Linked DNA regions of Homo sapiens: regions 2, 3, 4, 5, 6 and 7 are each linked to region 1. Evidence: promoter capture Hi-C in 16 types of primary human blood cells and fetal thymus (Javierre and others, 2016). All regions are on one chromosome and are shown on one strand. The core of a region is centred on a gene start or on the middle of the fragment in contact, and the rest is flanking DNA. Distances in the headings are between cores, read along the strand shown. Region 1 holds the start of SLC25A3 (solute carrier family 25 member 3). Region 2 overlaps CCDC38 (coiled-coil domain containing 38). Region 3 overlaps SNRPF-DT (SNRPF divergent transcript). Region 4 overlaps SNRPF (small nuclear ribonucleoprotein polypeptide F). Region 5 overlaps AMDHD1 (amidohydrolase domain containing 1). Region 6 overlaps CCDC38 (coiled-coil domain containing 38). Region 7 overlaps UTP20 (UTP20 small subunit processome component).

Region 1 (3,632 bases), core at 66-2,565:
TACGCACAAATTCCTGCAGTCAAATACATTTAATACACAAATAATGTTAGCTTTAACTTTTAAACTGAACGACAGATAGTGTAAATAAGGACTCTATCCATACTAAAGACAACAGAAGCACATGAATGATTTAAAGAAAAAAATCTTTCGATTTTACAGGCACAAGGTAGATAACATTCTTAGGACTCCTACAATTCGGTTTTCAGGTTTCTCTGTATGTACATACTTCACTAGGATTTAAAACACACACAACTAAGTTAAAGCTGGGCCCAACCACCAAGAATCCCAAGAGATAATCACACCAAAGGGACGCCCACCAATTATCTCCTTTCTATTGCCTATGTAGGGCTGCAAGCTGCCTCCTCCAGTCGCACGAAAACAGGACATCTAGTTATCTCATATACAATTAAGTGCAAAAATGACTGACCTGGCGTCGACAAATATAAAACTTAGGAAAGGACTATTTTTAAGAAAACTAAGGGCAAATCAAAGGACAGGTAATATAGTTAGTAGAACTGTGGGTGGTCAGTAGTTTCGGGAGGAGAGTTTACCCAGTACTTAGTTTGCTGACCAAGCGAGCTCACGGCGGAGAAAGAGCTAGTCACGGCCTCTCTTCCCTCGGGCACACGGAGGTCACGAAGGGACACAGGGCCTCAGCGCTTCCACGCCCTTGAGGGAAGGCCAAGGATCTGACACCCGCCTATGGTGGAAAAGGCCGATACCCCAGGGCAAGCAACTGGGCGCCGTCCTACGGTGCAGCGGGCTGGACTCGTCCTTCCCTGTCCTCCAAGCCGGGTCCAGGCCTCAAAGGCTGGGCGGCCCACAAGTAGACCACACGACTGTATTGGGCAGGGTCTGATCTCACCTTCCACGGCGGCGGCTGCCAGGTTGCGAGGGCGGCGGGGCTGGCCCGTGGGCCCTGGGGAGCTGCTGCGGAGGTCCCCGAGACCATCGTGCACCAGCTGCAGATGTGGCGTGTTGAAGGGGTTCGCCCGCGCCAGGTGCGCCACGGACGAGAACATCTTTCTAGGGGAGGAGGGAGCGACGGTTAGAGGACAGGCAAGGCGCCGGTTAACGTTACCGGCGCCCTGGAACCCCAACCGGGGCCTTTTCCTTCCCGTCTCCACGCCCTTGAAGAGGTCACGGCGGCCTTCGAAAGAGGCTGCTCCCGGCTGGGCCCACCGCCAAAGCAGCGGCCCCACAGGAGCTCTGGGCTCCGCTCCCCACACCCGCCACAGGAGAAGGCCCGGCCACACTCACTCCCTAAGATGGCGATCACACAACCACTCCCTTGGAAAGGTTGCGGCTCACAGAGGCCGGACGTCCTCCGGGTCCTAAGATGTGTGCCCTTCGCGCGTCGTCGGCGTGACGCACACAGCGCGCCACTGCAAGTACGCGTCGCCCATTGGTGGAGAAGAGCGCCGAGCCCGTAGCGTCATCGCGTTCTCCTAGCAACCTTATTCCCGCCCCTGCCCGCCCCAGCTCTTCCGCCCGGCTTGTGCGCGGGAGGATTCGTTCTGCGCAGGCGCGCGTTCCGGGTCTATATTTTTTGAGAGGGGTCGGGCTCGAGCTCTTACCCTGCTCGCTTTGTCCCTTCACCTTCAGGTGTCTCTCCTTGACCACGGGCTTCAGTTCGCTTCACTTAAGTGAATCACAGTATCTAGTAGTCACTTAAAAAACAAAACAAAACGCGAATGCTTGATAATATATTTAGGTGTTGGAGTTACAACATCACTGCAGTACTTTGTGTCACAACTTCTGCCATTACAGTACTTTTTAAAATAAGTTCCATCCATTGACATTAAACATAGGTATGTCTGTATTTTTCATCAGACTCCTGGAGAATATTTTAAAAAGAAATGTGCAGCAAGAAGTCTTACGACAGCTTGCCGCGTTATCACAGTAATCTACAGAACACGTTGAAACATTGAACTCCTGAGATGTTACAGCGATGAACTACTGAAAGTGACTGATAGCAGATTGTGCGTGTGTGTGGTTAATACATTTAGGAAGCTTTCATTAGATTCAGCTCAACAGGGAGGGGCGTAGTTTAGTTGGGGAGAGTTTAATAGGGATTCAACCTGTTAGACTTCTGACTCTTATATTTTCCAAGCTCTTGACAAAGTAACCTTGGGAATTTACTTCATCTCTGTGTACCTGTTCCCTAGATGTAAGATAGGGGTGGGACTGGCCTCATAGGTTCACACTGGTACAGTCACACATGGCCTTACACTTCATTTAATGCTCTGCTGTCATTTTGATTTTTTTTTTTTTTCTTTTGAGATGGAGTCTTGCTCTGTCGCCCAGGCTGGAGTGCAGTGGGGCGATCTCAGCTCACCGCAACCTCCGCCTCCCGGGTTCAAGCGATTCTCCTGTCTCAGCCCCCGGAGTAGCTGGGACTACAGGCGTGCACAACCACGCCCGGCTAAGTTTTCTATTTTTAGTAGAGACAGAGTTTCGTCACGTTGGCCAGTCTGGTCTCGAACTCCTGAGCTCAGGTGATCCGCCCACCTCGGCCTCCCAATGTGCTGGGATTACAGGCCTGAGCCACCATGCCCGGCTTGAAATTCTTAATACATGTATGAACAAGGGGCCACGCTTTTTTTAGTTTGCACTGGACCCTGCAAATCAGGTGTCTGGTTCTGGATGGGAGTAATACTTACCTTGCAGAGTCTATGAGAACTCAATGAGATAATGTCTAAAAGTCTACAGAAGATGTTACCTAAAAAAAGTTAGCATTGGCCGGGCGAGGTGGCTCACGCCTGTAATCCCAGCACTTTGGGAGGCCGAGGCGGGCAGATCACGGGGTCAGGAGATCGAGACCATCCTGGCTAACACGGTGAAACCCCGTCTCTACTAAAAATACAAAAAATTAGCCGGGCGAGGTGGCGGGCGCCTGTAGTCCCAGCTACTGAGGAGACTGAGGCAGGAGAATGGCGTGAACCCAGGAGGCAGAGCTTGCAGTGAGCCGAGATCATGCCACTGCACTCCAGCCTGGGCGACAGAGCAAGACTCCGTCTCAAAAAAAAAAAAAAACAAAAAAACAAAAGTTAGCATTGAGGCTGCGGCATCACGGCACTCTCTAAGCAACCCTATCCCAGACCCAGCCCTTCTGGCCCAACTAAAGTCCTACAGTCCCAGGAAGAATTCCAGAGTGGAGGGCACAGGAAGGGAAGTAGTGACAGATAAAGTTAAAAAAGTACACTAGCACCTGATTGTCCAGGGCCTCACATACCAGACTGAGGAGTCTGATCTTATGTAGACAGAGGTAGTCACTGAAGGGTCTGGACTTTCTCTCTCTCTTTTTTGGTTAATTCAACTTTATGGTGCTTTTCTAATTTAAAAATCCTTTGTCATGAAAAAGTCAAATATTATGTAAAAATATATGACTGTAGTGAATCTTCCTATTCCCTTCCCCCAGCACCGGGTAATACCGTGACCCTTTGCTGCACATTTTTTCAGCTGGAACAGCTGGTACCCTTCACCATGGGGCTGCACATGCTCGTGGCCCAGAACTCACAGAAGTTGATCTAGAAGATACAGTGGTAACTGAAGGAGCTGCAGGCCCAGCTCCTACCCCATGTGGGAGCTGGTGACCTTCAGAATGTAATGACTGTTGCTCCACTTCTGCC
Region 2 (3,344 bases), core at 14-2,513, 2.7 Mb after region 1:
AATAAGTAACCTGTCCATCAAGATTTGTTCCTGCCTGGGTATCAGGACAGTATGTGGCTTCCGGTTGGAAAGTCTCTCTAACTTGTAGATACAGAAGCAAAGAAGTTAGATGAAGCAAAACAATTAGGAATAAACAATAAATTATTATCTAAGTGCCCTTCCTCATTCATTCATTTTTTTCTTTTTATATTTTTAGTTTAGTCTGGTTGCACTTTTGCATTCATTCTGAGACATTTTTTCCCCCACATTTTAACATCTCTGAAATTGGGACTCATTCTACGATCATCTTACAGTCATCATGGGCAGTATTTTTTATATTTACGCTTACATAGTGGAAACTAGTATTGCTATTAAAAACTAAGATCTGCTGGGCACACTGCTTGCCTCTCAGCTCCTTTGGAAGCTGAGGCGGGAGGATCGCTTGAGCCCAGGAGTTCAAGTGAAGTCTTAGCAACACAGTGGGACCCCATCTTTAGTAAAAATAAATAAAAATAAAAAACTAAGATCTATAAAGAGAAAAAAGCATTGGAGCAGGAGTTGGGATAAAATTGTACCATCTGCCACTCTTTTTCAAACTTGGATGTTTCCTTCTATGGTCAAGGAAACTCACTTGAACTAATTTTTTTTTTTTTTTTTTTTTTTGAGAGGGAGTTTCACTTTTGTTGCCCAAGCTGGAGTGCAATGGCATGATCTCGGCTCACTGAAACCTCCACCTCCTAGGTTCAAGCGATTCTCCTGCCTCAGCCACTTGAGTAGCTGGGATTACAGGTGCCCACCTCCACGCTTGGCTCATTTTTTGTATTTTTGGTAGAAATGGGGTTTCACCACGTTAGCCAAGCTAGTCTCAAACTCCTGACCTCAGACAATCCACCCACCTCAGCCTCCCAAAGTGCTGGGATTACAGGCGTGAGTCACCGCGCCCGGCCTAACTAATTTTAAGTAGCTAAAGAAGCTTCCTTCTGTCATCATTTTTGGACAGTAATTTCATGATTCAGAATACACTGTAGTGTTGGTATCAGGTCAATGCTAAAACTTACTTTTCCTTTTTGAGAACTTGATGCTTACCTCCCCTCTAGAACTAGGTCCTAGGCTTCTTACATCCTTCAGACAAGCGAGTCTGAAATAAAGCAGAGTTGGTTTCTCTGAAACCAACTGCACTAACAGAATGTGCATTTCATATTCTGGCTACAGCAGGCTCTTCTATTTTAGGAGCCTAAAGCTGAAGCTGCTCCAAGATGGAGAATTTCCTTCTCTCTTTCACCCCCGATGCAATTAGAAGTTTCTATCCATTTATAGATTATTTCTAGAGCTAGAGTAGCAGCCTCTATTTTTGTGCAAAGTATTGCATTTATGCACAATAGCCGCCGAGTTGAGCCCTCCAAATGGTCTTGCTGAAGATAACTTGATCGTTGATGTATCACATCATCTAGAAAGGTGCAGGAGATCATGAAAAACAAGCCTGTAGTGGAGCAAGGGCAGCAGGTGCTCTTCTCTCTTTATGGCTCGAGATGGCCCCAGGAGGCCTCCTCTACGGGTAGGGCTGGAAAGGGAAGGGGGCATCTTCTGAAGCTTTTGCTTGGAAACTGTATCTTTCCAGCCAATTGTCACCTCGTGTTCTTTGTAGCATATCTGGGAGGATTTCAATCTAAAACGGAGGCAGCAGTAGAATGAAGGTCTCCCATCAATCTTCCAACTGGTGATACGTGAAGCAGCCATTTACTGACCCTTGAATATCACTCTTGCACCAGGGCTGAAGGAAGGCTCTGACAGATAGAAGTATTAAAGCTGAAAACATTGATACAAAGTAATATTGATATCTTTCAGATAAAGGTTTGGAAGCTCCCTTTCAAGTGGGCCTTCTTTTGTTATTTTAACATCCCTCTTTGTCCACTTTGTAATGTAATTACTATAACGCAATGTGAAGCTGGGCAAAAGCTTTTGGTCCAAGTCACTCAATATTGGCAAGAGCTTGGGCATCTGAGTCAGATGGACCTAGGTTTGAGTGCTGGCTCTACCATTTACATCTCCTTTCCAAGATAAGAATAATAGTACCTATTTTAAAGTGCTGTCCTGAGGATCAGCCTATGTCTGTAGTGTGTCCTGCCTGTAGTAATAGGTCCTCATTAAGTGTTAGTTTCTTTCTTTTCCTTACAAATGTACCATCTTTTGCTACTTTCTTTTTTTTTTTTTTTTTTTTGAGACAGAGTCTTGTTCTGTCGCCCAGGCTGGAGTGCAGTGACGTGATCTCAGCTCACTGCAACCTCTACCTCCCAGGTTCAAGTGATTCTCCTGCCTCAGCCTCTTGAGTAGCTGGGATTACAGGCATGCGCCACCACGCCTGGCTAATTTTTGTATTCTTAGTAGAGACAGGGTTTCACCATGTTGGCCAAGCTGGTCTTGAACCCTTGACCTCATGATCTGCCCTCCTTGGCCTCCCAAAGTCCTGGGATTACAGGGGTGAGCCACCATGCCCGGCTTTTTTTTTTTTTTTTTTTTTTCGAGACAGAGTTTTGCTCTTGTTGCCCAGGCTAGAGTGCAATGGCACGATCTCGGCCCACTGCAACCTCTGCCATCCGGGTTCAAGCGATTCTCCTGCCTCAGCCTCCCAAGTAGCTGGGATTACAGGCGCCCACCACCATACCTGGCTAGTTTTTTCTATTTTTAGTAAAGACGGGTTTTCTCCATGTTGGCCAGGCTGGTCTTGAACTCCTGACCTCAGGTGATCTGCCTGCCTTGGCCTCCCAAAGTGCTGGGATTACACGTGTGAGCCACTGCACCCGGCCCTTTTGCTACCTTCTAATTTCTCCCTATATCTAAAACTTAATACAGTGTTTCCTACAGAATAATAAACAAGTCGAGTAAAACTATCATGTCTATTCTATGTGTGCATATCCTTGGACATGTTTTATTTAAACAGCATTCCTAGAGTTTTCCTTCATCTCATTTCATATTCACTGAAGCCCATATTTTTATGGCCATATTTATCCTTTTTGATAATTAAATTATTAATTCAGTACATAAGAGAAACAATTTTATAAAAATTTTTTTCTAATGAATGTGCTTTCACACTGATATACCTAATCATATCTTTGTTTCTTTTGAGTAGTGAAATAGCAAAAACAGAATTCCTCCTCAGGGAGTATATGAAATATGGTTTTTTTCTGCTGCAAATGTCTCCAAAACATTGGCAAATCCAGCAAGCACTAAAAAGAGCACAGGCATCAAAAAGTAAAGCAAATATCATCCTTCCAAAAATATTAGCAAGTAAGTTACTTATACTCAACTTTCATGAACTAAATATCCCTAACTCTAAAATCATCTGCTTCAATGTTTTTTATCTAAAT
Region 3 (3,671 bases), core at 782-3,281, 2.7 Mb after region 1:
CGAGTAGCTGGGACTACAGGCGCCCGCCACTGCGCCCGGCTAACTTTTTTTGTATTTTTAGTAGAGACGGGGTTTCACCGTGTTCGCCAGGATGGGCTCGATCTCCTGACCTTGTGATCCACCCGCCTCGGCTTCCCAAAGTGCTGGGATTACAGGCATGAGCCACCGCGCCCGGCCCTAGATAGCCTATATATTCTATTGGCTCCATTACTTGTGCTATTAGCCTTAACTTCTTGATTAGGGAACTATCTGCCAGGTTTCTTCATTGCAAAGTTACCTTTTAAAATTGTATTATTAAGAAGTATTTTGTGAAGGTACTTTGAGGCTATGTAGTTATCTCATTCCTCCTCAAACTTTCACCTACTGCATATTAGCATCCACTGTATTTCTGAGCTAAATCAGTTACTTATGCTGGCTGCCAAATGGTGATTTTCTGACTCCATCATTTCTTCTCCATGCATCAGTTGGCATTCCACTGTAAGAAAAGCTTTCTCCTTTTCCCACTTATTTATATCAGTATGGACTCATAGATTCTATTTTATTTAGTGGGTTAATCATGTCATGATTACTTATTTTGATGCTCTTTATTTTAAGGACTCATGAATTTCTATTTTATTACATGAATTTATAATCTGTTACTATTGTTATTTCTCTGCCTTAATTGTCACATATTTGGACAGGGGGATCCCCCATTAAGCTGTCTTCTGTGTTCTTTTGACATGTCATCCTCATTCTTTGAGCATTTCCTTATTTTCTGTCCCAATAAGATGTTCCCTGTCCCAAACCTGGAATCAGTCAATTCTCCAAAAAACACTGCTTCGTTTTAGTGGAGAATGGCATTTAGGAAACTAAAGATTGGTCTAGACAATAGGCACGCTCCTTGGTAGGGGGGTGTTGGTGCTTCCAGTCCCTCTCACTGGACAAAACTAGAGAACGTATGCATGTGTATACATACATACATGCATGCATATATGACCATATCCATACTTGTTTCAATATCGCTATTGAAAATTCCAGTTCAACACCACATGGCTTATTTTAGTTTTTTCAGTTTCCATATTTGTAGTCCCTTCCCCAACAGTTAGAAAACTGTCTCCCTTCATCCTCAATTTGTTTACTTATCTGATCAATCCCCTCCATGTAACCAAACTTCCATCACCACTACCATCCCCCCTCCCACCCAACCCAGCAAGACAGCCTTGCCTGACTCTAACAGCATGAACTGGGCCACCACTCCAGAGCGCGCTGACCTCCCCATTCCCACTTTGCTCAGCCCCACCTCATACTTTTAGACAGGATTATTCAGAAATGAAGGATAGACAGAAGCAAACTATAAATCCCCTTTAAACTGATGTTTATAATAAAAACTAATACAAAAGAAAAAATATAGAGGGAAAGAATTTTAATTTTTTCTGGACACCCTCCAATTGTTTCAGTATACCAGTATTCCAAGTAAATAAAAAAAAAATTTAGTCAAGCTTTATTATGTGATACTATTTTAATGTGAAAATTGTGAGGAAGGGCTATTCTTCTTATTCTTTTCCAGTTTCCTTTTCTCTTTCCATTTCTTTTTTTTTTTTTTTTTTTGAGACAGAGTCTTGCTCTGTTGCCCAGGCTGGACTGCAATGGTGCGATTTCAGCTCACTGCAAACTTTGCCTCCTGGGTTCAAGAGATTCTCCTGCCTCAGCCTCCCAGGTAGCTGGGATTACAGTCATGCATCACCACACCTGGCTAATTTTTGTATTTTTAGTTGAGACAGGGTTTCAACATGTTGGCTAGGCTGGTCTCGAACTCCTGACCTCAGATGATCCGCCTGCCTTGGCTTCCAAAGTGCTAGGATTACAAGCATGAGCCACCATGCCTAGCCTTCCATTTCTATTCTATCTCTTCTATTTCATGGGTGGCCGAAATAAGAGCAAAGGAATTATATCACAAATTGATCTAATAAAATACACAATGCTAGAAAAATCATTTGAGAAGTGTGTGACTGAAGGTAAAAAAAAATCTCTTATAAAAAATCATATAGTCAATATTTTAAGAGAAGTTCATAAATATGGTGATTAACTCTTAGGAAAGAACCTATTATTTATCAGTATATTAAAGTCTTACTGAAGTAAAGTAAACAGGATAGACTGGTAGATTTTAAGGCAAATTAAAGCAAAAAGATTAAGGATGAGAGAGGGAGCTGTTATTTATGGAAGGAGACTTAGTTAGGATTGAGGAAAGGAACTATAATTTATAGAGGGTAATTAGGTTGGGATTATGCTCAGCTATGATTAACAAAGACCCAAATTAAGGATGATTTAAACCAGTTGAATCATACAGTTTGGATATATGTCCCCCTAAATCTTATGCTGAAATGTAATCCCCAAAGTTGGAGATGGGGCTTAGTGAGAGGTGTTTGGGTCACGAGGGCAGATCCTTTATGGCTTGATGCTGTCCTCATGATATTGAGTGAGTTCCTGCGAGATCTGGTTGTTTAAAAGTGTGTGGCACCTCCAGGTCCTCTCTCTCTTGCTCCCCTTCCTGCCATGTGAGACGCCGCCATTCCCTCTTTGCCTTTTGCCATGGTTGGAAGCTTCCTGAGGCCTCCCCAGAAGCTGATGCCGGCGCTATGCTTTTTGTACAGCCTGCAGAACTGTGAGCCAATTAAACATCTTTTCTTATAAATTACCCAGCCTCAGATATATCTCTGTAGTAACACAAGAAGTGCCTAACAAAAAGAAAGTTTATTGACCTCTTTTGTAAAGGTGAATAGTTCAATACTGGGGTGACGCTTTGCTGCTTGAAATCTTCAGAGACCCTGACTGCCCCTAGCTTTTGATCTGCCCTCTTAGGCTATGACCCTCATCTTCATCATCCCAGATGGAGCTCTAACTACCACATACGTAGTCGAAGGGTTAAATGGAGGAAGGAGGGAAAAAAGGGCAAGCACCAGCTATCTTTAAAGGAAATTTTCTGGAAGTGGCTGCACAATTCTTTTCCTCATAGCATGTTGACCAGAACCTGGTCACACGGCCACACTGGCTGCAAGGGAGGATGGAAAAGGATTCTTACAGTCCCAGTGGCCCTATGCCCTGCTGAGAATCAGGGGTTCTAACACCAGTAGGCTGTTTGGGGTAGGCAACCATTGATCTCTATTGCCAGAGGGTCTACTGGATGTTGTCTATTTCCTTATCATAAAATGGGTTAAATTGGCCTGGTGCATGGCACATGCCTGTAATCCCAACACTTTGGGAGGCTGAGGCAGGCAGATGACTTGAGGTCACGAGTTTGAGACCAGCCTGGACAACATGGTGAAACCCCATCTCTACAAAAATACAAAAATTAGCCAGGTGTGGTGGCACATGCCTGTAATCCCAGCTCCTTGGGAGGCTGAGGAAGAAGAACTGCTTGAACCCGGGAGGCAGAGGTTGTGAGCCGAGATCACGCCACTGTACTCCAGCCTGGGTGACAGAGTGAGTCACATAGAGTGAGACTCTATCTCAAAAATAAATAAATAAATAAATAATTTTTAAAATGGGTTAAATATTATTAACAGGGTTAAACAAGGTAACAACAGCTAATACTTATACTTCTTATATTCCAGGGATTTCAGGTGAAAAACCTGTTTATAATTATCTTATACTTTTTAACATAATTTTTTTTGCTCTTAACACTGCATTTTTCA
Region 4 (3,466 bases), core at 149-2,648, 2.7 Mb after region 1:
GCTTTTCCCCAGATACTCAACTGAGTTGTACACTAATTCTGGTATCTTCCAGAATTCGCCTCCTCAGAGAGGCTACTCTATATAATATTGCACATACTGTCTTCCCCCTTTTCTTCATGGATGGCATCTATCATGCCTATTATCACATTATATTACCACCTCCCACCACTAAACCATAAACTGTTGAGGGCAGGGACTTTGTTTTGTTCAATGCTATATTCACAGTGCCAGGCACATAATGGAATTCAATAAATATTTGCTGAGTGAACAAATTCAAACACTGGTATCAATATGGTTGACTACTCAAAGTGGTTGGTTACTCAGACATTTTGCAACTCTAGCAGGGTCACTAGCAAGCTATATTAATTCTAAAACAAATATTAAGTGGTAATTCTTTTATTATTGAGATGTTAATTTCCATAGCATAAAATTCACCCTTTTAAAGTGTACAATTCAGTGGTTTTCAGTATATTCAAAAACCTGTGCAACTATCACCACTACTTCCAGAATATTTTCATCACAATTCATATACTTCCCAGATTTTTCTATGGTCTTGGTAAATGACTCCTGTTTAAGGAATTTTCCACACTCAAACTATGCTTTGGGGGCCTTAATGTCATGTGCTCAGGTGGTAATTGCCTAAGTTAAGGAAAATCATAGCTCTCTGCCTACTTAAGTACTCCTTTTAGTACTCTGCTTACAAGTATGGAATCCTTGGATTCATGATTGGATTGACCACCTGTCTTGATAGCCTTTAAAAACCTGCCTGGAAACTACTACCATTAAAAAAACAACAAAAAATCCCAAACTAATTTTTTAAATGTGCAAAAGACATGAACAGGCATTTCTCCAAAGATAAACAAATGGCCAATAAACACATGAAAAGGTGCTCAACATCATTAGCCAAATGCAAATCAAAACCACAATAAGATACCACTTCACACCCATTAGAATAACTATTTTATAAACACCCATAGAAAATAACAAGTGTTGGTGAGGATGTGGAGAAACTGGAACCGTTGTGCATTGCTGGTGGGTATGTAAAACCACGTAGCTGCTGTGGAAAATAGTGTGACAGTTACTCAAAAGAAAAAAAAAAATTTCTCTGTCATCCAGGCTAGAGTGCAGTGATCACAGCTCACTGCAGCTTCAACCTCCCCAGGCTCAGGTAATCCTCCCAACTCAGCTTCCTGAGTAGCTGGGAATATAGCTGCCCACACCATCATGCCTAGCTAGTTTTTGTATTTTTTTTGTAGAGATGCAGTTTCACTATGTTGCCCAGGCTGGTCTCAAACTCCTGGGCTCAAGCAATCTGCTGCCTCAGCCTCCCAAAGTGCTGGGATTACAGGCATGAGCCACCACGCTTGGCCTCCTTAAAAAATTAAACATAGAATTACCAGTAATCCAGTAATTCCACTTCTGGGTATATACCCCAAAGAGCTGAAAGCAGTGACTGGAACAGACATTCGTATACCCATGTTCACAGCAGCATTATTTACTACAGTCCAAAGAGGGAAGCAACCCAGTGTCCACCAAGAGGCAAATGGATTAGAATGTGGTATATCCATATAATGGAATATTATTCAGTCATAAAAAGGAAATTCTGACACATGCTACAACATGGATGAACCTTGAATAATACACTACGTTAAGTCAAACAAGCCAGACACAAAAGGATAATACACAATTCCACTTACATGAGGTATTATGCACGGTCAAATTCATAGACATGTAGACTAGTGGTTACCAGGGGTTAGTTAGGTGGAGGAAGGAATGGAAAATTATTGTTTAATGTTTAATTGTAAAATTATTGTTTAATGGAAAATTATTGTTTAATGGGCAAAAAATTTCACTTTTGGATGGTAAACAAGTTCCAGAAATGGACAACGGTGATGGCTGCAGAACAATGTGAAGGTACTTAATGCCACTGAATTATACACTTAAAAATGGTTAGAGTGGCAAAATTGTAATGTATATTTTACCACAATAAAAAGATAATTAATTACAAAAAAACCCACCAAAACACATGGCTGAATCATTTACAGAAACTCGTTTGACAGACATACAGTCAGTTCAATTCCTTTGGCAGATCTGTCTTTCCCCTGAAGGAATGAATTTCCTCAATAGCTTTGGTGTTGTGCCTTTAGCATTCATTAAAAGACTCAATAATTTCACTTGAAAACTTTCTTTCAGGGCTAAATGATGAGAAATGTTTTGTTTTCTCCAGCAAAGTAGTGTGTTTCCCTTATGGTATTATTATGAATCAAGTGTCTGAGCTCTTCCTACTTTAACTACTAGGAATAAAATCTGTAGCTGAATTCTGGTTTAAGTCCATGTCTTGTACCTAGTATATCACAGTATCCCTCCTGGCTTTGACTTTATTTTTGAATTTTGCCGTATATTTGTCAATTTAATTGTATGTATTCTTATTAGTCAGACTAAACCTTTGAGAAATAAGGTGAAGCAAAATAAATGCAATGTTATGACCTTTACAGCTCTTTAGCTTACCTGCATGTTCATGTAGCCATCTACAGATACCAGATAGCCCTTGTACTCCATTCCCCACTTAAGTTTCACCATCACTGGCTTTCCTGTTAGTCCATTGAGGAAAGGTTTGGGATTGAGGGGTAAACTCTGCACAAAGAACAAAAAAGGATCTAATTAATTATTTTTCCTCCCACCACCAACTCTCTTCTACCGAATCACCAATATTTTGTGGTATGCAAATGAAGAAAACTTTTGACTCCTTATTATTTTAGTACATAATTTTCACTTTTATTTGTTGAGAGTACCAGGGAAATTTAAATATCCAGTTAGCCAATTTCACCTTTAACCCATCAAAACAAAACACTGACTATTCACTTAAGATACACTGACTACCTACATCACTCACTGTTCTGAGCTCTAAAGAAACAAAGATAAAGGCACTAAAAAAAAAAAAAAAAAAAAGCGGGCCAGGTAGGGTGGCTCGTATCTGTAATTCCAGTAATCTGGAAGGCCAAGGCCGGGGGATCACTTGAGGTCACGAGTTCAAGACCAGCCCAGGCAACATAGTGAGACCCCCATCTCTACCAAAAATAGTCAGGTGTGGTGGTGCACACCTGTAGTCCCAGCTACTAGGGAGGATGAGGTGGGAGGACTGCTTGAACCCAGGAGCTCGAGGCTGCAGTGAGCTATGATTAGGCCACTGCACTCCAGCCTGGGCAACAGAGCAAGACCTTGTCTCTTATAAATAAATAAATAAATGAGTCCCTGTCAAGAAGTTGGAGATGGGGAGGGGAACTCCTCACATACAAATAATTATATTGCATGCTGCACTGTAGTAAAAGGAGATATACTAGGCACAAGGGTACCAAAGCAATCCAGGGGAAAAAGGAAAGGTTGCCTGAAATAAGTAATACCTCAGTTTTAAAGGATAAGAGTTTATTTCCAGAGCGGGAAAAAATGCTGTTCCAGGCAAGGCTAG
Region 5 (3,684 bases), core at 500-2,999, 2.6 Mb after region 1:
ATGGCATGGGCACCAACCCATCAGATTAGAAAGGTGCTGGGATACACAGTCCTGGAAGCCCCTAGTCTGCCAGACACTGGATTGTGGGGAGCTCCGAAGGGGTCTTGGGAAGAGACTGGAGTGGTAGAGATGGGAGATGTGGTGGGTGGCCTGTTGGGATCTTAGGGCAGTGAGGCCTGGCGCGGTGGCTCACGCCTGTAATCCCAATACTTTGGGAGGCCTAGGTGGGCAGATCACGAGGTCAGGAGTTCAAGAACAGCCTGACCAATATGGTGAAACCCCATCTCTACTAAAAATACAAAAATTAGCGGGGGCATGGTGGCACACGCCTGTAGCCCCAGCTACTCTGGAGGCTGAGACAGGAGAATCACTTGAACCCGGGAGGCGGAGGTTGCAGGGAGCTGAGATCGCACCACTGCACTCCAGCCTGGGTGACAGAGCGAGACTCTATCTCAAAAAACAAACAAACAAACAAAACAAAACAAAACTGGCACAGGAGTATTGCAATATTTTAACAAGTCAATCAACCCGCAATGTGTACTTGCTAAGTATCAGCCCTCCCTCCATCCCTCAGCTTGTTTGAGAAAACAAAGCTTAGGCAATTCAGGAGTTGCAGGGAACCCCATTGCAATTATTCAGATCTCCACTAAAGCGGCCCCAGGAAGTTTCCTTGTCTCAATATTTGGCCATCCGAGTTTGGAGCTTGATCTTTGTCACTCAAAGAGGCTCTTTCTAGGGTCCCACTGGGCTCCAGTTACTCTGGGCAGCAAGGAGTGTGGTGCAGAGAAAGGATGCAGGCCTGGGGTCTCCTGGCCGGAGTTTTCATCTGGGTTCTGCCATCCTCCAGCTGGTGACGCTAGTCAACACTCTTCCCTTCTCTAGACCCAGCTTTCTCCATCTACATAATGAGAGGATTGGACTGTAAATCTCTTTCTCCGTCTATACAATGAGAGGATTGGACTGCTTTTGGCTCTGAAATTCTGTGATTTAATAAAACAATCTTAAAAACAGCTCTAGTTTGTTGAAGCAGGTACATGATAGCTGAAGAAAAGAATTTTTTTTTTCTTTTCCTGAAATAAGCCAGTTTAGCTGCTAGGAGGCACATCTTTTTTTTTCTTTTTTAAAAAACACATGTGAAAATCTCTCCAACCAGGGATTTAGGAGTTGGTTACAGCTAATATAGGACTAACACAGCTTACATTTTGTGATTCTTAATAAGTCTCAGTTTATAACAGAAAAATTAAGGTATTTTATTTTTGTGATTAGTAACATATTTTTCCAAGCTTTACTCCAATGAATGGCAATTTTCAAACTATTCCTTGGAGCCCTTTCAAAAGCTACTAGAGATAGCGATTTGGAATGGGAATGTGGGGAAGGAAAGAGAGGGAGACATTAGTGGGCAGGAATAGCCCTGTGTATAATACAATGATTTGGGGCAGTTATAAATAAGTTTTGTTGTCATTTGTTTCCCATACCCAAGCAAGTAAAAATATCCATTAAAAAATATGTTGACATATGTTGCAAAGCTTGATAGCCTACTAACTCTTCAGCAAAAGACTTCATATTTGTGCTTTATTTTGATTTGCCATGATTTGTTGCAGTTACCTTCATTGCAAATTCGTGAACTCTTTCACCAGCCCATACTGGATGTGTGTGTGCATCCACCAAACCTATAATCAATAAATCAAGTTATCTTACAATTAAGAAATAGAGAGCACTTAGACAGCAGGCAAACAGCAGCACTATACCCTGCTGCTCTGGGGAAAGTGTGATGGTGGCCATCCATTTTGGAGGAGCATGAAAGGAAGAATTTGTCTGTCTGGTTCCCTTGATAGAGAGAAAAGAAGACTGCCCTGTTGTATGGTTGGTCTAGAAAGCTCTAATGAAGGAGGTGATGCAACATGATGAAAATATCCCTTACAGAAATACAGCTCCTTTTGCTCAGTAAGTCCATGCTCACCAAATAAGCTTTTATTTTATTTTATTTTATTTTATTTTATTTTATTTATTTTTGAGAAAGGTTCTCACTCTGTCGCCCAGGCTGGAGTGCAGTGGCACACTCACAGCTCCCTACAGCCTTGACCTCCCAGGCTCAAGCAATCCTCCCACCTCAGCCTCCCTAGTAGCTGGGACTATAGTCATGCACCACCACACAAGCTAAAATTTGCCATGTTGCCCAGGTTGGTCTTGAACTCCTGGGCTTAAACGATCTGCCTGCCTCAGCCTCCAATGATCTGCCTGACTCAGCCTCCCAAAGTGCTGGGATTACAAGCATCAGCCACTACTCCTGGCCCAAATAAGCTTTGAAATTAGGTTGTCAAGCCCCCTAGTTGGCAAAACCATGAACCTTATCACAAGGAATAATCTGGATATGAAAACAATACTACAATCCCCTCCCCCTGCAACTCTGAGAAGGGAAAATGTGAAATCAGAAAGATTAATCTATTTTCAAGAAAGAAATGTATTTTAATTAAGGAGAAACTGTAAAGCAATCACTTGAAACTTTTGTTTATCCAGGTACAATTCAGTAAAGTGTGTCTTTCCAAAATGTTTTAGATACCTTATGGATTAAATGACTCATTATTGGCTCTGATTGGACTAAAATCAAAAGCGCCTACTCAGATTGCTTTCTGCTATATTCCTCTTTTTCATAACATTTCACCCTGACTTTGTCTCCTGACTCTCAAGAATCATAAGGAAGGCCGGGCGTGGTGGCTCATGCCTATAATACCAGCACTTTGGGAGACCGAGATCAGCAGATCGCTTGAGATCAGGAGTTTGAGACCAGCCTGACCAACATGGTGAAACCCTGTTGCTACTAAAAATACAAAAATTAGCCAGGCATGATGGTGCATGCCTGTAATCCAGCTACTTAGGAGACTGAGGCAAAAGAATTGCTTGAACCTGGGAGGTGGAGGTTGCAGTGAGCCAAGATCACACCACTGCCCTCCAGCCTTGGTGACACAGTGAGACTGTCTCAAAATAAACAAACAAATGAAAACCCATCAGTTAGAAGCTCTGTCAGATGTGTACAATAAATATTTAAAAGTATAAAAATTTTATATAAAAAAATATAAATATGAAGCCCTTTTGTTTGTGTAGAACTGAAAGTTTGTGAAACTTGTTTTGGATGATTATATGAAGCCATACAACATAATGTAGGAGATGATGGTTAATAAACTGATTCTGTTGTCAATCATCAAAGATACAAGTGAACTGCAGTGAAAGCTCTAGGATTTTTGTTTTTCTTTTTCTGCCCAGAGCTGGATCCTTTGTTTCACATCCTATACAAATTTAGAGTATTTCTAGTATTAGAGACAGCAGCTGCCTTGTTAGCCTCTCCTATGCCATGGATTAATAAAGTTCTTTTGACTGTTTTTGAACCTAAACACAACACAGCTGGTTTCTATTCAGCATGTGAGTGGGAAGAAGTGGAGTCGAATGAATGGGCTTGATTCCTAGGTTGTCTGTTTCCTGTTTAGGAACCTTGGGTAACATATTTCACCCTTAGCTTCAATTTTCTAATCTGTAAAGTATAGATAATGATACCTCCCACACAGGGCAGTTATAAGGATTCAAGGTGAAACCATGTTTGAAAGCAGCTATACATTCAATAATAGAAATTCAATACATGGAACGATGATTTTTTTTAAATATTATTTTGAGACTTTAAAATAAGCTGTT
Region 6 (3,727 bases), core at 749-3,248, 2.7 Mb after region 1:
ATCTCATACTCCACATCCAAACCATCAGCCAATCCTGTAGACTCTACTGTCAAAACACATCTAGAATCGGACCACCTCTCACCACTTCCACTGCTATCCCAAGGAAGGGATAGCATTATCTCTTGCCTCCCAGTGGCTGTAGTCTCCTAGTAGATCTCCCTGTGTGACCCTTTTCCCTTTCTACAGTCTCTTCTCAGCTCAGCATCAGAGTGATTCATTGAATGGTTCCATTTCACTGAGAAAATGGCCTCCAGGGCCCTCGTGATCTTGGACTTCTTGTCTCTCTGGCTTCATCTGGGGTGCTGTCCCCTTTGTTCACTGTGTTTAAGGCCCACTGGTGTCCTTACTGTTCCTGAAACACACCAGGCACATTCCTCCCTCAGAGTGCACCTCTCCATGTGCTTACACTCCCATAGCACATACTATGCAACTGAGGCCATCCAAAGGCTGGACGTGGTAACTTACCTAACAATCCCACAAGGTAGATACTATTTGCATCATTCCTCTTGAAAGATGGGGAAATTGAAGTGTGAGGATTAAGGGACATAGAGAGAGTCTATGTTCTTAATCATTTAGCTTATGCGACCTCTAAAATGGATGGCTGGCAGTTATACACCACCATTTTACATTCCTGATATTTCTGAGCTTTTGATCTTTTTCATCTATTGGAAGTTGGATGTGAACGTGTATTTAAGATGTGAACTTTCAGGCATTTGCTATGCAATCCAATAACATTTTCCCTCTCTTTTGGTACAGAGCCTTTGTTTAGCCATCATGCTATTTTTATTTCGCACAACAAAGACATCCACTGACTTCAACATTTTTTCTGATTGGAAAGGGGACTTTATAATCCCTTCCTAACAATAACTGGTTCTGTTCCTCTCCCTCCCTTTTGTTCACCAACCTTTCATTCATCAATACAGGAATTCATGCATATGGAAGTATAGAAGTATAACAACATCTGGAGACTGCTGATTGCATTTACATGTTATATGAACTATATAATAGAGACAGAATAAGAGCAGATATCTGCTCTTAGCAATTGGTTTAAAGGAACAGAACTTCCAGTTTTTCTGTGAGTGAAAAAGTCCTTGAACCCATGGATAAAGATGCTCATTGCAAAAAGACTTTAAGGATAAAGGGAATGAGAGTGGGAAGGAGAGTGAATTTAGATAGATAGAAGGACCAAAGGAGTGAAAATGTGACAAGAAAGAGGTGATCAGAATCCTAAGAGTGGAGATGAGTACAGAGTGTAAAATTGAGAAAATCTACAAATCTTTAGTATTAGCCATCCAAATTCCAAATACTCATCAACCACAGGTTGTCACCAATTTTTCACCGATCTTTCTTTTCCCCCGTGAGAATGAATTTAATGCCTGTGAAAAAATGTTCAGTCATTTGAAAAAGTATAATGTCAATGTTATAGTTTTTATTCATTTTTTTCTCTTTTATAAGCTTTGACATAATTTTTTAAATATTTGTTTTTATAACCACTGGAACTAAAATCAGATGCTAATTAGTAAATATTAGCACATAATAGTTCCCACTTACTGAGCTGGTCTGTAAGCCAGGCACCCCACTTGGTTAAATCCATTGCCCACTGAATCCTCAAGAAAGCCTTAAGAGGTGTGTCCACTTTATGAAACAGGAAGCAGAGGCTCAGAGATGCTGAGTAATTAAGATGTAGGCTCCATGAAGACAATAGTTTTTGTTCTTTTTTGTCTTTTTAAAAATTGCCCTGTCCCCCACACGTAGAACAGTGCCTGACACATAGTAGGTACTCAATAAATGTTTTTTGAATGATACATGAACTTGCTCACACATAAGTAAATACCAAACCAAGATTCAAAAATCAGGCTTGTCCAAAGTCTGTGTTCTTAATCATCTGCTGCTCTGCTTCCGGGATATTTAGCTCTTATATATGGCTCTTTGAGATTCCTGAGGCACATATTTAAATGAGTAGCCCAAAATAGAATGTGTTGTCCATTGTTTCTGCTGCGGGCACATTTTTAAATATAAACTCCTGGGTGTCCTTTATCCCCAAAATGAATATATCTTTATTATTTTTCTCATTGTAACAGTTACACCAGCTCACTGAGAAATTTGAATGATACTCAAAGTATAGAAATCAGAACAAGGATTAGGGTAAGGCCAGTGAAGCTCTAGCTTCATGCATAAAATTTAAGGGGAAAGCAAAAACTCAGTAATCAAAATAAGCAATATTTTAATTCACTATTTTAAATATATAAATTAATGTAAAAAATTCATGATAAATGAAATAACAGAATTTTAAATAGAGACAAGTTCTGTGGGCCAGGATTTGGGTGAGTAGAGTGAGGCACTGGCTCTCAGGGTCACACAAGTACAGGGTCAGAGACTGTCCGTATTTACAATTTTGATATTTTGTTCATTATAGAATTTCCTGCATTTATTTGGAATTTTATAAAAATATATTGCATTAACATTTAATTTATCATAATAACTGAAAGTTGATTTTTTTGTTTTGTTTTTGTTTGTTTATTTTGGCAATCCTTAAGCTTTGCAGCTAAGATTGAGTGCCTCAATCACCTAACCCTAATCCCAAACCTGGTAAAAATGAGAGACTGCACCAAATCACATGTAATCAAGATTCATGTTTGATGAATGGCATTTCAAACACCTCTCAGATTTTTGCATGCATTTTTTAATCCACACTATCCCTACTCTTTTGAAATGTTTTGTTTTTTAACCAATACCATGGAGAGAGGTAAATAGTGACTACAGCATCATTTTAAGGGCCAACTGGAATTTATTTTATGGATATACCATAGTTATTTGGTCAACTCTGTATTTATGAAATGACATTGAACAAACATTATTGCACATGCTTTTTTGGCTGCTTGTCTGATTATTTTCTTGACATAAGATACCAGAATTGAAATTGCTGGGTCAAAGAGTATGTGTGTGCTCACTGCTTTTAAAAGCCATAAGGACTGTTAAGGAGTCATTGGCAGTTGAATTTAGCCCTTTTATATGATGTTCATAGAATTTTTAAAAAACGTATTTTTTTTTCTTTCAACAGGGCCAGGCAAGAAAATGTCCTCAAATTTATTGCCAACACTGAATTCTGGAGGTAAAAAGAAATCAATCAATATATTCTTGTTTGGGCCTGGCAGTGTTAGGCTCCATAACAGATTGTGAGCATAAGAAAAGGAGAATGTTACACCATAAATATAAAATGTAATGAGTTTATAAACTACCTGCAGAGAAGATTCTGTTCTACTTTTTAATTCAAAAAAAAAATCTTCAAATCAGAGGGTGCATTAAATTGTCATATTTAGCCAGATTGCCCCAGTCTCTCATGACAGAAAACAAGTAACTCAATTATTTGTCATAGTCAAGGACATACCTAACTAAACTTTATGAAAATCTGCCCTCTTCTTTCCTTTCCCACCCTTTCTCATCTTATCCTTCTGCCTATTTTTTATTTTTATTTATTTTATTTTATTTAATTAATTACTTTTTTTGAGATGGAATTTCGTTCTTGTTGCCCAAGCTGGAGTGCATTGGCGCAATCTTGGTTCACTGCAAACTCCGCCTCCTGGGTTCAAGTGATTCTCCTTCCTCAGCCTCCCAAGTAGCTGGGATTAGAGGCATGCACCACCACGCCCAGCTAATTTTGTGTTTTTAGTAGAGACAAGGTTTCACCATGTTGGCCAGGCTGGTCTCAAACTCCTGACCTCAGGTG
Region 7 (3,810 bases), core at 155-2,654, 2.7 Mb before region 1:
ATTGTGGAGCATTAGAGGGAAGGAATTGGTGGTGGTGGTTGAGCTAAACAAATGTGAGTCATTTACTGAGTTTTCAGTGAGAAGCTTTTTCAACTCCACTGGCTCTACTTCCTTTCACTTCTATTTTAATTTGCTTTATAACTTAAACCAAGTTTCTTCTAGTTTTAAGTATGATTTCTCAATTTTGTGCTCCTGGGCATGTTTTTGATTGACAATTCACTGGAATGAACTGACTTCCTCCATTCTCCCTTTCCTTTTTGACATGAATTTTACTACTTTCCACAAATGTAGAATGATGTTGCAAAGTTACTGTGATGAAGTTGACGAATACCACTAAAATGATTATGACATATAAGTAATTTTCTCCTGCTGCTTTGATCAGATACACAGTTGCTCAATGACATTTTTCGACATGACATTCTGTTTTGAATATCTGTGACTCTGGTCACAGATTAGATAGAGGCTAACTATTCTTGTTAGCCTCTTTTTATTTTTGCCAATGTACTACACCTCGGTCCTATTTGAAAGACAAAAATCTAATCAAAAGAAAAATCACAGAAATCTTAAGTTAAATGATCTGTTTTACAATTATCCTCCAACTCCAGTTTGGTTAGCTTGTTATGCAATAGAAGTGGAATATCAGGTTTTTACTCTTGCACCCTTTTTATCATTAAAATTCACCAAAAAATGGTCAGGTAGGGGAAGGAAGGAAAAAAAAAAACAAAAACAAAGAAAAAAAATTCTCCAAAAAGCTACATTCTCTTTTGTTTCATACTTACCAGGATGTTTAGTGTCTGGAAATCATGATAGATAACTAAGTTAATTTAATTATCAATTCCTTAAAGTCACCACATCTTGATATATATAGTCTTTTTAGTAATAATCATGACTCAACAATCTGCAAAAATCTTACAAAATACTAAGATGCTTTAAAAAACAAAAATGAGTCATTAGTTGCCACGTCATTCCCGTTTTCTAGACCTGCCAATGGCTCCACCAATGAAGTCCATACTCCTTAAGTCATCCTGTAAGGCCCTCTGTGATTTGACCCTCACCCACCTCCATCTCCTCTCACCCCAATCTCCTCCTTGCTCTTTACCCACAGAGGTTTTCTTTCTGTACTTCAAACATGCTGAGCTTATTCCTGTCCCAGAGTCTTTGCAGTTAACTTTTCCTTCTGTCTGGAGAGTCTCTCACTGAGATCTTTGCAAGGCTGGATCCTTCCCAGCTTAAAATTGGACCAAACGTTCCCTCTCTGGAAAGTGACCCCTCTCCATTCAGTCTCCCTCTCAACACTGCTTTGTCTTCTTTTATCACGATCAGGATCTGAAATCATCTCGCTTATTTGCTTACCCGCCTCACCACATTCCTTTCCCCAAAAGAAGGAACTTTTTTCTTATTCTTTGTTGCACCCCAGTATCCAGTGCCTGATACCGTAAGTAGTTGTCAAACGACAGTAAGTTTATCTCCTAAAGAGTCTTTTCACATTTATTATCTTTATTTTTTCTCACAGCAAACTGGTGAGATGGGTAGATAGAGTGTTACTAGTAATATTCAAACTATGATTTTAAAATCTTCATAGAAGGAATCAAAACAAAGGTGACCATTCACACATACCATATCTCCGTTGGGGGTGGCAGAGGGGTGTTTTTGCAGAGAAAGAAACACAGAAGTGGAAGAACTTGCCATGAGTTAGCACATCGAAATTTATTTATTTAACACGTCACCCTCCTGGGAGGATCTGAGATGGCTGAGATGATGGGGTAAGAAGGTCTGACGCCCAGTCTCAGTCAGTCCCTTAGCTTCACCTCATGGAAGCCAAACAACAAAGCAGCTTCACTCTCCCTGCACAGAACTCAGTTTTGGCATGTGCAAGGAATCTGCCTGTTGGAGATGGGCTTGGGTGTTGACAAATCAAGGGAAAAGTTTCAAAGGAATAATTCTATTGGAGTTACTCACTACCCATTCCTCAGGAATCAGAATTCAATACATTTAAAAACCAACAAGATTCTGTTGGCATATTTTAATAGAGAAGCAATTTGTAAGGTATACAGAAGATATAAGTAGGTGTTAAGATGAGTTTGCTAAACACAGTGGCTCAACCTGTAACCCCAACACTTTGAGAGGCCAAGGTAGGAAGATCACTTGAGTCCAGGAGTTTGAGACCAGCCTGGGCAACATAGCGAGACCTCGTCTCTACAAAAATTAAAAAATTAGCTGGGCATGGTGGTGCGTGCCTATGGTTCCAGCTACCTGGGAGGCTCAAGTGAGAGGATAGCTTGGGCCCTGGAGATCGAGGCTGCAGTGAGCCGTGATTGTGCCACTGCACTCCGGCCTGGGTGACAGAGCAAGACCTGCTCTTAAAATAATAATAATAATAAATAAAACATTTAAAAAAGAAAATAGGTTCCTCCAGAACCTCAAGCTGATCAAACTCAAAAGCTAGCTCTGCTCTGTGACTGTGGGACAGTAACTCCCACCTCCATGGATGTTTCAAAGTCGAGTATTCAGCACAAACTCAAGGAATGCCCATCAATTCCGCCTCAAAGCAAACCAAAAACACAACAACGGGTCTAACTACTCCAAGAGAAATAAGAAGATTAAGTATAAAAACAAAGGAATGACAAGGGAACTGGTTTCCTAAGCTACAGTTTCTAGAAGCATACCCACTTAACTATTTGAGAAATGATACAATAAATCTTCTCATGTATGTAAATAAGCTTTGTTTTTAACTTCTAAACAATGTGTCATTTTGAATGAAATTAAGAAAGTAATCCATGACACTTAACAACTGAAACAATACAAAGGTATATAATTTTTATTTTTATTTTATTTTATTTTATTTTTTGAGATAGAGTCTTGCTCTGTCGCCCAGGCTGGAGTGCAGTGGCATGATTTCGGCTCACTGCAACCTCTACCTCCTGGGTTCACGCCATTCTCCTGCCTCAGCCTCCTCAGTACCTAGGACTACAGGCGCCCGCTACCACACCCACCTAATTTTTTGTATTTTTCTTTTTTTTTTTTTGAGATGAAGTCTCGCTCTGTCGTGCAGGCTGGAGGGCAGTGGCGTGATCTCGGCTCACTGCAAGCTCCACCTCCCGGGTTCACGCCATTCTCCTGCCTCAGCCTCCCGAGTAACTAGGACTACAGGCGTCCGCCACCACGCCTGGCTAATTTTTTGTATTTTTAATAGAGACAGGGTTTCACCGTGTTAGCCAGGATGGTCTCGATCTCCTGACCTCGTGATCTGCCCTCCTCGGCCTCCCAAAGTGCTGGGATTACAGGCGTGAGCCACCGCGCCTGGCCAGGAGTGTGGTTATTAAAAGGTAGCATGAGGAATCCTCGTGGTGAGGGAACAGTTCCAGATATTCACTCTGGTGGTGGTTACAAATCAACACAGGATAAAACTACATATGACTATATATCTATATAAGTATACACACTCAGATGAGTGCACATACAACTGATGATATCTGATAAGATTGATGGATTGCACCAATGTCAATTCTACAGTTGTGATATCGCAGTATGCTCATGCAAGATGTACCAATGGAGTAATCTGAGTGAAGAGTATACGAAACCTCTCTGTACTATTTCTTGCAACTGCACGTGAATCTACAATAACTTTAAAATAAATGGTTAAAAAATTAAGTCACCTCTGTCTTTCCCTTACCATCCTTCTGATTAAACAAAGTTAACAAGTTTCTGTATCCTTCCACATGTTTTTCTATGTTCATACACACTTTTTGCTTTACCTTGCAAAATGAGATCATACTATACGTACTATGTGTGTAGCTCTACAACTTGCTT

The links. Contacts are between HindIII fragments. The CHiCAGO score rates a contact against its expected background, and 5 or more counts as called.
Region 2: a fragment that was not itself captured here is called in contact with the fragment with the promoter of SLC25A3 in region 1 in 1 of 17 cell types (activated CD4 T cells); the score reaches 10.1 in activated CD4 T cells.
Region 3: a fragment that was not itself captured here is called in contact with the fragment with the promoter of SLC25A3 in region 1 in 1 of 17 cell types (activated CD4 T cells); the score reaches 5.9 in activated CD4 T cells.
Region 4: a contact is called between a fragment that was not itself captured here and the fragment with the promoter of SLC25A3 in region 1, in 9 of 17 cell types (total CD4 T cells, naive CD8 T cells, non-activated CD4 T cells and 6 more). The highest score is 24.7, in total CD4 T cells.
Region 5: a contact is called between a fragment that was not itself captured here and the fragment with the promoter of SLC25A3 in region 1, in 7 of 17 cell types (non-activated CD4 T cells, total CD4 T cells, M0 macrophages and 4 more). The highest score is 18.1, in non-activated CD4 T cells.
Region 6: a contact is called between a fragment that was not itself captured here and the fragment with the promoter of SLC25A3 in region 1, in 7 of 17 cell types (total CD4 T cells, non-activated CD4 T cells, naive CD8 T cells and 4 more). The highest score is 15.1, in total CD4 T cells.
Region 7: a fragment that was not itself captured here is called in contact with the fragment with the promoter of SLC25A3 in region 1 in 2 of 17 cell types (activated CD4 T cells and total CD4 T cells); the score reaches 10.1 in activated CD4 T cells.

What each region holds. Positions count from the first base shown.
Region 1 is chr12:98,591,369-98,595,000 of GRCh38, reverse strand. It overlaps SLC25A3 (solute carrier family 25 member 3), which reads right to left and starts at 1,315. Exons shown (of 8, transcript NM_002635.4): 1 at 1,261-1,315; 2 at 866-1,026. The coding sequence starts at 1,022. RefSeq lists enhancers at 276-900, 1,224-1,323, 901-1,525, 1,574-1,793. The HindIII fragment of the contact is 3,126 bases long and covers 1-2,015 here.
Region 2 is chr12:95,894,909-95,898,252 of GRCh38, reverse strand. CCDC38 (coiled-coil domain containing 38) reads left to right here. Exons shown (of 16, transcript NM_182496.3): 8 at 3,107-3,264. Among named protein-coding and RNA genes, the nearest start is that of SNRPF, 38 kb to the right of the region's middle. The HindIII fragment of the contact is 617 bases long and covers 955-1,571 here.
Region 3 is chr12:95,844,651-95,848,321 of GRCh38, reverse strand. All of the region lies in intron 1 of SNRPF-DT (SNRPF divergent transcript), which reads left to right. Among named protein-coding and RNA genes, the nearest start is that of SNRPF-DT, 12 kb to the left of the region's middle. The HindIII fragment of the contact is 1,101 bases long and covers 1,481-2,581 here.
Region 4 is chr12:95,860,336-95,863,801 of GRCh38, reverse strand. It overlaps SNRPF (small nuclear ribonucleoprotein polypeptide F), which reads right to left. Exons shown (of 4, transcript NM_003095.5): 2 at 2,509-2,634. Among named protein-coding and RNA genes, the nearest start is that of SNRPF, 3.1 kb to the right of the region's middle. The HindIII fragment of the contact is 5,419 bases long and covers 1-3,466 here.
Region 5 is chr12:95,952,897-95,956,580 of GRCh38, reverse strand. It overlaps AMDHD1 (amidohydrolase domain containing 1), which reads right to left. Exons shown (of 9, transcript NM_152435.3): 3 at 1,606-1,670. Among named protein-coding and RNA genes, the nearest start is that of AMDHD1, 11 kb to the right of the region's middle. RefSeq lists an enhancer at 1-231. The HindIII fragment of the contact is 442 bases long and covers 1,529-1,970 here.
Region 6 is chr12:95,935,858-95,939,584 of GRCh38, reverse strand. CCDC38 (coiled-coil domain containing 38) reads left to right here. Exons shown (of 16, transcript NM_182496.3): 2 at 3,062-3,112. The coding sequence starts at 3,076. Among named protein-coding and RNA genes, the nearest start is that of CCDC38, 4.9 kb to the left of the region's middle. The HindIII fragment of the contact is 1,082 bases long and covers 1,458-2,539 here.
Region 7 is chr12:101,295,786-101,299,595 of GRCh38, reverse strand. The region is part of intron 12 of UTP20 (UTP20 small subunit processome component); the gene reads right to left. Among named protein-coding and RNA genes, the nearest start is that of UTP20, 18 kb to the right of the region's middle. RefSeq lists an enhancer at 1-284. The HindIII fragment of the contact is 2,636 bases long and covers 87-2,722 here.